Regions from separate parts of the Homo sapiens genome. Here regions 1 and 2 are each linked to region 3. The links are contacts of gene promoters, found by promoter capture Hi-C in human tissues and cell types (Jung and others, 2019). All regions are on one chromosome and are shown on one strand. The core of a region is centred on a gene start or on the middle of the fragment in contact, and the rest is flanking DNA. Distances in the headings are between cores, read along the strand shown. Region 1 overlaps CDADC1 (cytidine and dCMP deaminase domain containing 1). Region 2 overlaps FNDC3A (fibronectin type III domain containing 3A). Region 3 holds the start of MLNR (motilin receptor).

Region 1 (3,510 bases), core at 326-2,825, 36 kb after region 3:
AAATTCCCTTCAGACACTCTACGGGAGGACCTTTCCTTGCCTTTTCTACCTGTGGAGATTGTCTGTTTTCCTTGGCTCATGGGCCCCTTCCATCTTCAAAGCCAGCAATGGCCAGTCAGGTCTTTCATGTTGCATCGCTGACTCTCCCACACCCCTCTTTTACTCATAATGACCCTTGTGATAACATCGGGCCAATCAGATAATCAAGGATAATCTCCCTATGTCAAGGTAGGTGGTTAGTGCCTCAGTTCCAGCTGCAAACTGATTCCTCCTTGCCATGTAACAAAACATAGTCACAGGCTCCAGTGACTGGGACAAGGAAATCTCTGGCGGGGCATTATCCTGCCTACCACAATCCCGATCTAATACCTTTGCTACATAGTTCCTTATCTTCTCAATTCCAGTTAATTTACCTCTATTCCACTTTAGTCATTCATGGCCACACTTTGGACTTTTCCATTACTCAAAACTGCCACAATTCTGAAACCATAAACTTCAGAATTTTATTTTCTCATTACAATTTCCAATCCTTCTATGTTTTGGGAAAGTACATAGGGGATAGATTATAAAGGTTTATTTACTAGGTAAAGTAGTATGAACTTGATCCAAACAAAGTGGGAAGTCAATGTAGAGTTTCATCATGGAAAAAAAAATGGTCAAAGCCAAGGAAGCCAGCCTTTAAATATGGGAATATTGAATTAGTCATATGTCTTATGTGCTAATCTTTTTTTTTCCTTAATCTGATTTTTATTAGAAAAATGAAGAGGGAAAGCATGGACCCTTAGGAGATAATGAAGAGAGGACCAGAGTATCTACTGACAAAAGACAGGTAAATTTTTATGATTTCACATATATATGCTCATAATAACAAAGCAAAAGGAATAGTATAAAGTAGAATAAAAGTGCCTCCATTTCTACTATCAAGGGAGTTTTTAAAATACTCTTCTAAAAATGGTCTGTATATTTACAAGACTATATGTCACTCCTTTTTTTTAAAAAAAAAAGTACAGATGGGATTATTCTATGCTACATCCTACATCTTGCTTTAAAAAAAAAAAAACTCTTGATGGTTCATATAGATGTGTTAAGAAATACTCTCCCTTAGTTCTCTCACACTCCCACACACCTTGCTGGGTATGCCAAGAATGCAAGGCCCTAACCATTTTTTACCTGGGTCATTTCTCAGAGTTGTGTTTGCAGTGATCAACCCTGAAGGTTGAGGTAATATCTCCCTCCAGGACAAAAAGCAATCTGGCTTACTTTCTGCTGTGAAACAGTAGGACCCTCAAGCTCAGTGTTCCTCTCCTATAACACTACCCACCCTGTGTCCAGGCAGCCATCTGTGCCCATTTGTATTACCCCTCATGGGGCTTGAGGGCAGGAAACAGAAATGATGCTCATACTGACTGCTGTGCTGCAAATAATAAAGTTCATTGTTTCTAACCCAGAAGTTTCATGTTTTCTGCTAATATCCATGAAACAGTAACAGGTTAACTTATTAGTTGGTAAGTAGGGTAAAATCAAAGTGCAGACTTGAAAGATGAACCTTGTTCTTTTTAATATTGTATAGTATTTCCTTGTTACTTTATTCCTTTGAGTTTTCCAGAGGTTCCGATTCATTGGATGCAGAGTGGAGACTAAGCATGTATGTTTTGAAGAGTTACCTTGATGATTCCGATGTATATTCCTAGAGATTTCCTAATTCATTCTGAGAGTGAGCCCAGTAGGAATATAGAAATAATTTGTCTCAGAATATTTACATGTTTTCATAATAAGAAAGGCCAAGGGAAAAAAAATAGTGAATCACCATTTAAGTCAATGTACTAGTCCATATACAAAACAGACTGTACCCTTTTGCCCATGTTTTAGTGTAAAACTCTGTGACTAGGATCAAACAGATGACTTGCCAAAATGTTAGCGAAGTGAGGCAAAATCAAATTCAGAGCAGCGATTCACTGAAAAGATTCAGTCCTCTGGGAGTTGTGGTAAATGGAAGTGCCAAAATGGAATGCAACTTGAGCTTTTATTTGTTTTATTGAGTTTGGGATGGAAAAATCTTTGTCTCAAACTTGGTATTTTGGCCTTACCTAGATGCAAAATGAAAAAATACATATTTTCTGAGGTAAAAAGGACTCTAGACAAAAAAGTGATAAATAAACTCGACCCAAAAGATTGTTCTAATAACAAATAAGTTGATGAGTGTGCTTCTCACTTGATAGGAACAATTTTTTTTTTTATGTTTTATTCTGGCTTTATTTCTGTCTGTTTAACTAGGAAAATCTAAAGCTGAAATCATTCCCTTGCAGCCACTTCCACTGGTTACGTTGGTTCAATTTAACAATAGGAGCTCTGTCAAGATCTTTTGATGAGGCAGCATTACTTCTTTTCCAAGATGATACGTATTGGCCGGGCACGGTGGCTCACGCCTGTAATCCCAGCACTTTGGGAGGCCGAGGCGGGCGGATCACGAGATCCAGAGATCGAGACCATCCTGGCTAACATGGTGAAACCCCATCTCTACTAAAAATGCAAAAAATTAGCCGGGCGTGGTGGCAGCTACTCAGCTACTCCACGGGCTGAGGCAGGAGAATGGCATGAACCCGGGAGGCGGAGCTTGCAGTGAGCCGAGATAGTGCCACTGCACTCCAGCCTGGGCGACAGAGTGAGACTGTCTCAAATCAATCAATCAATCAATCAATCAGTCCAGCCTGGGCGACAGAGTGAGACTCTGTCTCAAATAAATAAATAAACAAACTTATTGAAAGTATTCAGAAATCAATAATAATATATGCTTCGCATTTGAGGAGCATAAAACTCAAGAAATTTTGGTAGGGAGGGGAAAGTGTTCACAAATTCAAGGTCAATTTAAAGCTTATTTTAAAAGCCAATATAGATAGGTTTTTCATATTTTATATACATCCTTAGGTACATATTTTGTAAAGCAGAGATTTTTGTATTCCTTTATAAATGTCCTTCTAGTTTAGGAGATGGTTGGTTAACTCAGAAATGGAATTCCATAAAATCTTCTCTGTTCCTTCTTTTTTAGATAGTTTACAAATTATTCTCCGTAATCTCAAACATTCATACTCAAAACCGAAACTGAAACTTGACTAGTTAATATCGCTTTGGTCTGATCCTTAAAGTGATTTCAGATATGCTGTATTGGGGGATAAGTATAGGGTTAAATCCCTTTGGAAGGGGATGGGGAATAGGGACACCCTCTCCTTAGCCCAAGCTCCCCTCATGTAACAGTCAGTCCCAAGCCCAAGGATCAGGTTTACATTCCTTACTTCAGAGGCTTTTGCTGTGAAAACAGCATAGACTGTTTTGTGCCTTATGCAGAACTGACTTTTTTTTTTAACCTTAGTCTGTTTTATCTGATATTGTTATACCAGCTTTGATTAGTATTTGTTTAAGTTGAGAAACTTTAGGTTCAATAGTAACACAAAACCTTCACTCAAAGAGATCCACTGGAAGTGCTTAGAACCCCAGTCAGTAACCAGTCTGCAG
Region 2 (3,435 bases), core at 163-2,662, 35 kb before region 3:
AAGAATGTACACTGGGAAACTAGCTAGTGGTATAATTACAGTCACTCAGGAAAGATAGGAGAAAGGAGGCTTTCATTAAAGTGGTCGTAGTTGTAGAACAGTGAAGTGGAGGTAAAGTTAACCAGATATAGTAAGAGATTGGATGCGGTTTAGAGAAGAATCAAGGATGTCTCCTTTTTGTAAGGTCAACCGAGAGGAAGAATAGACCCAAAGTCAGCCGAGTAAGTTTATTGAACCTGCCGGCTGCTCCACTACAGACAGAGGAGGAAGCCCTGAGCTTATAAAATGAGGGGTTTATATTGGGGAGAGAGACCCTGGGGTCGTTTGTTGGTTAACTTTATCATATATCACCTTGTGACATTTGTGGTAGCAGCTAAATGAAGGAACTTACAGGTAGGTGTAGGTAAAGCTTGTTTGTGCTTCCCACGACCTCCCCCTGTGCGGTCCCAATGGCCTGTAATTGGGATTTGCTTATCACAGCAAGGCCTGATAGGTGAAGTCTGCTGGCTTCATTGTGGCACCTAGATAAGGGCTTAGAAATGTAAAGGGGCTCAGAGGGAAAGGTGGGCAGCACAGAGAAGAGTTGCAGAGCATAAGGGGGAGGGGGGTGGGCAGCATGGAGAGGTTTGAGGGGAGCGTCAGCAGTACCAAGATTTTTTGGGGCAGTTTGTCTCTAACACTTTTGACTTGAGCAACTAGGTAGATGGTAGAGCTTTTTACTGTGGGGAGAGAAAAAGAGGGGCAGGTTTAGAGAAGAAAAAATCATGGTTTGATATTGGACTTGAGGATCTTTAAGTTCAGTAGAGGAGAAAATGTAACAATACAGGTATAGTTAAATTTCTATAATAGAAAAATACCTAGATTGGAATTATATTTCTCTATTGCTTTATAACAAATTATCCCAAAATTTAGCAGCTTGAAAAAACAAACTTATAGTTTCTGTGGGTCAGGAATTGAGAACCAGCTTAACTGGGTAATTCTGATGCAGGGTCTCTATGAGGTTGTAATCAAGATGTCAACTGGGGTTGCAGTCATCTCAAGGCTCTCCTGGGACTTCACTCACTTTCAGGTTCACTCACATGGTTGTCTCCAGGAACCCTCAGTTCCTCACCACATGAGTTTTTCCATAGGGAAGTTACACACACCGTCATTTCTGCTGTATTCTGTTTGTTAGAGTGAGTCATTAAGTATAACACACACACAAGGGAAGGGGGATTAGACTTCACCTTTTGAAGAAAGGAGATTCAGAGAATGTGTGGACCTCTTTCTAAACTCACAAAGAATGTTAAAAGAAGAAACAAAGCAAGCCTAAAGCCCATGAAGAATCACCAGATTATAGCTTGTTCCTCTGATTCTTATTTAGTATCAAAATATTAGGTTTTACACTTGTATTCCCAGGACGGACTCTAAAAGGGGAAGTACAGTTGCATACTCTTCATATATGCCAAGTATCTATTGGAGACAAGCAATTCTCAAAGAACAAGCCATTCCAAGCTAAAAAAAATGTATTTTATCATTTGGTTGAAGCTGTTTGTCTCCTATCACTTTGTTTATTAAGCCAGTATCATTAGGTATCAAGTGTATTATTTAATGTCTTTCTGTTCTCATCACAGGTTATTGCTTACAACTCAGAAGGTAAAAGTAATCCAAGTGAAGTAGTAGAATTTACTACTTGCCCTGATAAACCAGGCATACCTGTAAAGCCTTCAGTGAAAGGAAAGATACATTCACACAGTTTTAAAATAACCTGGGGTAAGATATTATGCATGTTTATACATTATTACTTTTGCGTTTGATTAAAATAATTTGAATATGAAGATAATTTTTAAGATATTTGAGTAAATTTGTTATCTCAAGCCAGTCCAAAAAGAAATGTGAGAGTCATTCATTGGGTATGTTTTTTGTGGAAAACCTTATACTCTCATACATGCTAGGTTAAGATATGATAAAAAGGAACTTGCGATCCACTGTAAGATAATGAGCAGGGGTAGCACTGTGAAATGAAGGATTACTGAACTTGCAGCTAAAGTCACCTGGGTCATCTGGCTCTCGTAAGAAATGAAAACCATTCATTTAAAACAAACATTTATCGAGCACCTACCTACATACCTAATGGAAAAACAAAGATCCCATAAACTTGACCCTTGCCTGAAAAATTCAGACCAATAAAAATGCTTCAGTGATATTTATAATATTCAAAAATTTCAAACAACCTTAACATCTAAAGTAAATGGAGGCTGGGCATGGTGGCTTACGCCTGTAATCCCAACACTTTGGGAGGCCCAGGCGGGCAGATCACATGAGGTCAGGAGTTCGAGACCAGCCTGGCCAACATGGTGAAACCCCGTCTCTACTAAAACTACAAAAATTAGCTGGGCATGGTGGCACATGCCTGTAGTCCCAGCTACTCAGGAGGCTGAAGCAGGAGAATCGCTTGAACCCAGGAGGCAGAGGTTGCAGTGAGTCGAGATTGTACCATTGCATTCCAGCCTGGGCAACAGAGTGAGACTCCATCTAAAAAAAATAAATAAAAATAAGTAAATGGAATATCATGCAGCCATTAAAAATTGTTATAGAGAGCCATATTTTAAATATGGTAAATTAAGTGAAAAGCAGATGACAACAGCATGGAGTAATTGGGTACTGGTATTAAGTCATTGCAGGTGATTTTTTTTTTTTAAACCTAGTTTGGTATTCTGTTTATTAGGTTTTTTTTATCATTTTTATGTTGTTTTGTACCTTGCCTAATACTACTTTGCTTCTTTGGATAGATCCACCAAAAGACAATGGCGGAGCAACCATCAATAAATATGTAGTGGAGATGGCAGAAGGTTCTAACGGTATGAATGGATATTAAACACTGATAGATTTATTCCAGCCAGTCTCTTTCTATTCTTTATGGCTTTACATTTTATGTCATATCTTTTCTTTCTTCTTGCTTTTCATAAGGTACACCATAAAAAGATGTTCACTTCACTTTGGGTTGTCCTGGATTTTTTTTTTTTAATGTCATAAGTTTATTGACAAACATATCTAGTATGCCATATGAGTTCAAGTTTGATCCACTTCCAGAGGCTGTACCTCTTAAAATGCTCTTCATATCTGTTAATGGATGAACTGAAACATCCTTATGTTTTAAGTAGTTGTTGTCTTACTACAAGAAAGGGTGTAGCAAATGCAGATCCAAAGTACAAACACATCTTAGCTAGTAACGACCACTTGTTTTCCACTGAAAATGGCAAATTCTTCCCAGGGCCCTCCTCACAGTGGCTCCTACGGACCACAGAGGTTGTGAACCTCCGGATGCTCTGGCCCAACGTAGCGCTGCTGGAAGCTCTGCGAAAGGCACAGAAACCGAGGACGGATGAAATGGCGGCACCTCACCAAGACCTTTTTTTTTTCCTGGATTTTTTTTTTCTTTGTTTGTAGCAGTTA
Region 3 (3,193 bases), core at 139-2,638:
CCAGAGCCCATATCCCAGTCCCGCCTCTTACTGCCTGCTTGATCTCAAGCAAGACCGCTTTGTTCATGGGCGAAAGGAGCGCCCCGGGCCATGAGGATTAAATGGAGAGCACAGGGCCAGATCCATCTAAATTCTCAGTAAGTGTTAGCTATTGTTATTAAGACCACACCGAACAGACTGAACATCCGTTTTAGCCCCTTTCCCCAATTTTCGTTCTTTCCGGTGTTGACAAATCCTCTAGTTTTTTAAGTTTATAAAACATGTTGTACATAAGAATGACATATCACATGTGAAAGTACTCTAGTGTCCACGTAAATATTTGTCTTGTTCTTTATAATAAGTAAACATGCTCACGGATCCTTGAAATTATCTGGTCACTGCCGGGCGCGGTGGCTCACGCCTGTAATCCCAGCACTTTGGGAGGTCGAGGCGGGTGGACCACCTGGGGTCAGGAGTTCGAGACCAGGCTGGCCAACATGGCGAAACCCTGACTACACAAAAAACACAAAATTTAGCCGGGGCTTGGGCGCTCCTGTGCTCCCAGCTACTCAGGAGGCTGAGGTGGGAGGACTGCTTGAGCCTGGGAGGTCGAGGCTGCAGTGAGCTGTGATCGCGCCACTTAAACTCCAGCCTGGACGACAGTGAGACCCTGTCTCAAGAAGAAAAAAAGAAAGAAAGAAAGAAAAAAAGAAAAAAAAGAAATTATTTGGTCAATTATATGGTCAGCTCCCTCCACCACTCGCGAATTTACAGAAGAGGAGAACTGGGCTGGGCGAGACCAGGACTAGCCCAAGATTACACAAGTTACTCGGTTGTAGAGCCAGGATTAGACAGGAGAGGCTCTAGATTCTGGTCTAGACTCCCCTCCTATTATTTAGCATTATGGCTTCCTGAGGATTACCATGAGCCCTCCTCCACCGTCAAGCGGCAGCTACCAGCCACCAGACCAGATCCCTTCGAAGGTGCCCGGAGTACCAGACTGACAAAAGCGCCCGTACAGTGCTCAGTCCTGTAACCAAAGCTGTCTAGGGTGCAGACATCGCTCACCGGACCGGGTAGGGCTCGTGCGCTAAGGGCGCCGGGTATTCCAGTTAGTGGAGAGGGAAGCGCCCTGGAACTGCATGGGCCCGGGAGAGGGCGCGGGAGCGGAGCAGGGCCGGGCCGGGGCGGGCCGCGGCCGTGGGCGGAGACTGCGCGCAGCTAGCTCGGGAGCGCCTCGGAGCCCACCCCGCAGAGCCGCTTCTCGCGCCCCGCAGCGCAGCGCAGCGCTCCGCCGTCTGACCTGCCGCGCCCGCAGCGTGCGGGCTGGGAAAGGAGGCGCTCACCGAGAGGGACCACGCGCCAGGCTCCCAGCCCGACCCGGGACGCGGCGGCCGCGCGGAGCACCCATGGGCAGCCCCTGGAACGGCAGCGACGGCCCCGAGGGGGCGCGGGAGCCGCCGTGGCCCGCGCTGCCGCCTTGCGACGAGCGCCGCTGCTCGCCCTTTCCCCTGGGGGCGCTGGTGCCGGTGACCGCTGTGTGCCTGTGCCTGTTCGTCGTCGGGGTGAGCGGCAACGTGGTGACCGTGATGCTGATCGGGCGCTACCGGGACATGCGGACCACCACCAACTTGTACCTGGGCAGCATGGCCGTGTCCGACCTACTCATCCTGCTCGGGCTGCCGTTCGACCTGTACCGCCTCTGGCGCTCGCGGCCCTGGGTGTTCGGGCCGCTGCTCTGCCGCCTGTCCCTCTACGTGGGCGAGGGCTGCACCTACGCCACGCTGCTGCACATGACCGCGCTCAGCGTCGAGCGCTACCTGGCCATCTGCCGCCCGCTCCGCGCCCGCGTCTTGGTCACCCGGCGCCGCGTCCGCGCGCTCATCGCTGTGCTCTGGGCCGTGGCGCTGCTCTCTGCCGGTCCCTTCTTGTTCCTGGTGGGCGTCGAGCAGGACCCCGGCATCTCCGTAGTCCCGGGCCTCAATGGCACCGCGCGGATCGCCTCCTCGCCTCTCGCCTCGTCGCCGCCTCTCTGGCTCTCGCGGGCGCCACCGCCGTCCCCGCCGTCGGGGCCCGAGACCGCGGAGGCCGCGGCGCTGTTCAGCCGCGAATGCCGGCCGAGCCCCGCGCAGCTGGGCGCGCTGCGTGTCATGCTGTGGGTCACCACCGCCTACTTCTTCCTGCCCTTTCTGTGCCTCAGCATCCTCTACGGGCTCATCGGGCGGGAGCTGTGGAGCAGCCGGCGGCCGCTGCGAGGCCCGGCCGCCTCGGGGCGGGAGAGAGGCCACCGGCAGACCGTCCGCGTCCTGCGTAAGTGGAGCCGCCGTGGTTCCAAAGACGCCTGCCTGCAGTCCGCCCCGCCGGGGACCGCGCAAACGCTGGGTCCCCTTCCCCTGCTCGCCCAGCTCTGGGCGCCGCTTCCAGCTCCCTTTCCTATTTCGATTCCAGCCTCCACCCGCCGGTACTTCCCATCCCCCGAGAAAACCATGTCCTGTCCCCCAGGAGCTCTGGGGGACCCCAGGGCGCTTTGAGGGTGGGATCCCCGGATCCGATTCAGTAACCAGCAGTGCTTTTCCAGAGCCTCTGAGACCAGAAAGGAGAGTTGGTAATTCTTAATCCAACCACCTGTTAGATGCCACAGATGAGGAGTCCTCACAGTGCTCTTGAGAAGACGAGGGAGATTTCATTAAGCTAAAATTTTTTATTTAATGTTAAGTGATGCTGAAGGCTAAAGTAAACCTTGCTCGTATCAAAAAGTAAAGATTGTGCAGACCTGTTGTAGAATTCTTTTCAACAGAGAACAGAAAACTTGTCTCCGAAGTGGGTTTGTGGAAGGAAGCCTGCCAAGGCGGCTTGTTCAGAGAAATTGCTCCTTCTGGTTTATGTCCAGCCTTGATAACACATATGGGAGCCTACTATGCAGTTTTAAAGCAAGTATCCATGCAGCCTGCAGCCTGGTCATTTTTTCTGGGGTGAGGATCTGCCTAGGTAGAAGTTTTCTCTAATTTATTTTGCTGTTACTTGTTATTGCAGATGGTTCCTTGTCGGGGTGGGGGGTTTATTTGCTTCCCAATGCTTTTGTTAATCCCGGTGCTGTGTCTTATGTTGCAGTGGTGGTGGTTCTGGCATTTATAATTTGCTGGTTGCCCTTCCACGTTGGCAGAATCATTTACATAAACACGGAAGATTCGCGGATGATGTACTTCTCTCAGTA

Evidence for each region. The method cuts DNA at HindIII sites, captures the fragments that hold promoters and counts their contacts. A contact is called where the count stands out against the background at its distance.
Region 1: a contact is called between a fragment that was not itself captured here and the fragment with the promoter of MLNR in region 3, in 2 of the 25 tissues and cell types used here (heart right ventricle and mesendoderm cells).
Region 2: a fragment that was not itself captured here is called in contact with the fragment with the promoter of MLNR in region 3 in 1 of the 25 tissues and cell types used here (mesendoderm cells).

What each region holds. Positions count from the first base shown.
Region 1 is chr13:49,255,085-49,258,594 of GRCh38, forward strand. It overlaps CDADC1 (cytidine and dCMP deaminase domain containing 1), which reads left to right. Exons shown (of 10, transcript NM_030911.4): 3 at 755-829. Among named protein-coding and RNA genes, the nearest start is that of CDADC1, 8.9 kb to the left of the region's middle. The HindIII fragment of the contact is 3,632 bases long and covers 1-3,391 here.
Region 2 is chr13:49,184,351-49,187,785 of GRCh38, forward strand. It overlaps FNDC3A (fibronectin type III domain containing 3A), which reads left to right. Exons shown (of 26, transcript NM_001079673.2): 15 at 1,614-1,752; 16 at 2,772-2,840. It also overlaps the pseudogene COX7CP1. Among named protein-coding and RNA genes, the nearest start is that of MLNR, 34 kb to the right of the region's middle. The HindIII fragment of the contact is 3,540 bases long and covers 1-3,182 here.
Region 3 is chr13:49,218,950-49,222,142 of GRCh38, forward strand. It overlaps MLNR (motilin receptor), which reads left to right and starts at 1,389. Exons shown (of 2, transcript NM_001507.1): 1 at 1,389-2,289; 2 at 3,091-3,193. The coding sequence starts at 1,389. RefSeq lists silencers at 819-1,075, 1,012-1,271, 1,342-1,421. The HindIII fragment of the contact is 10,157 bases long and covers 1-3,193 here.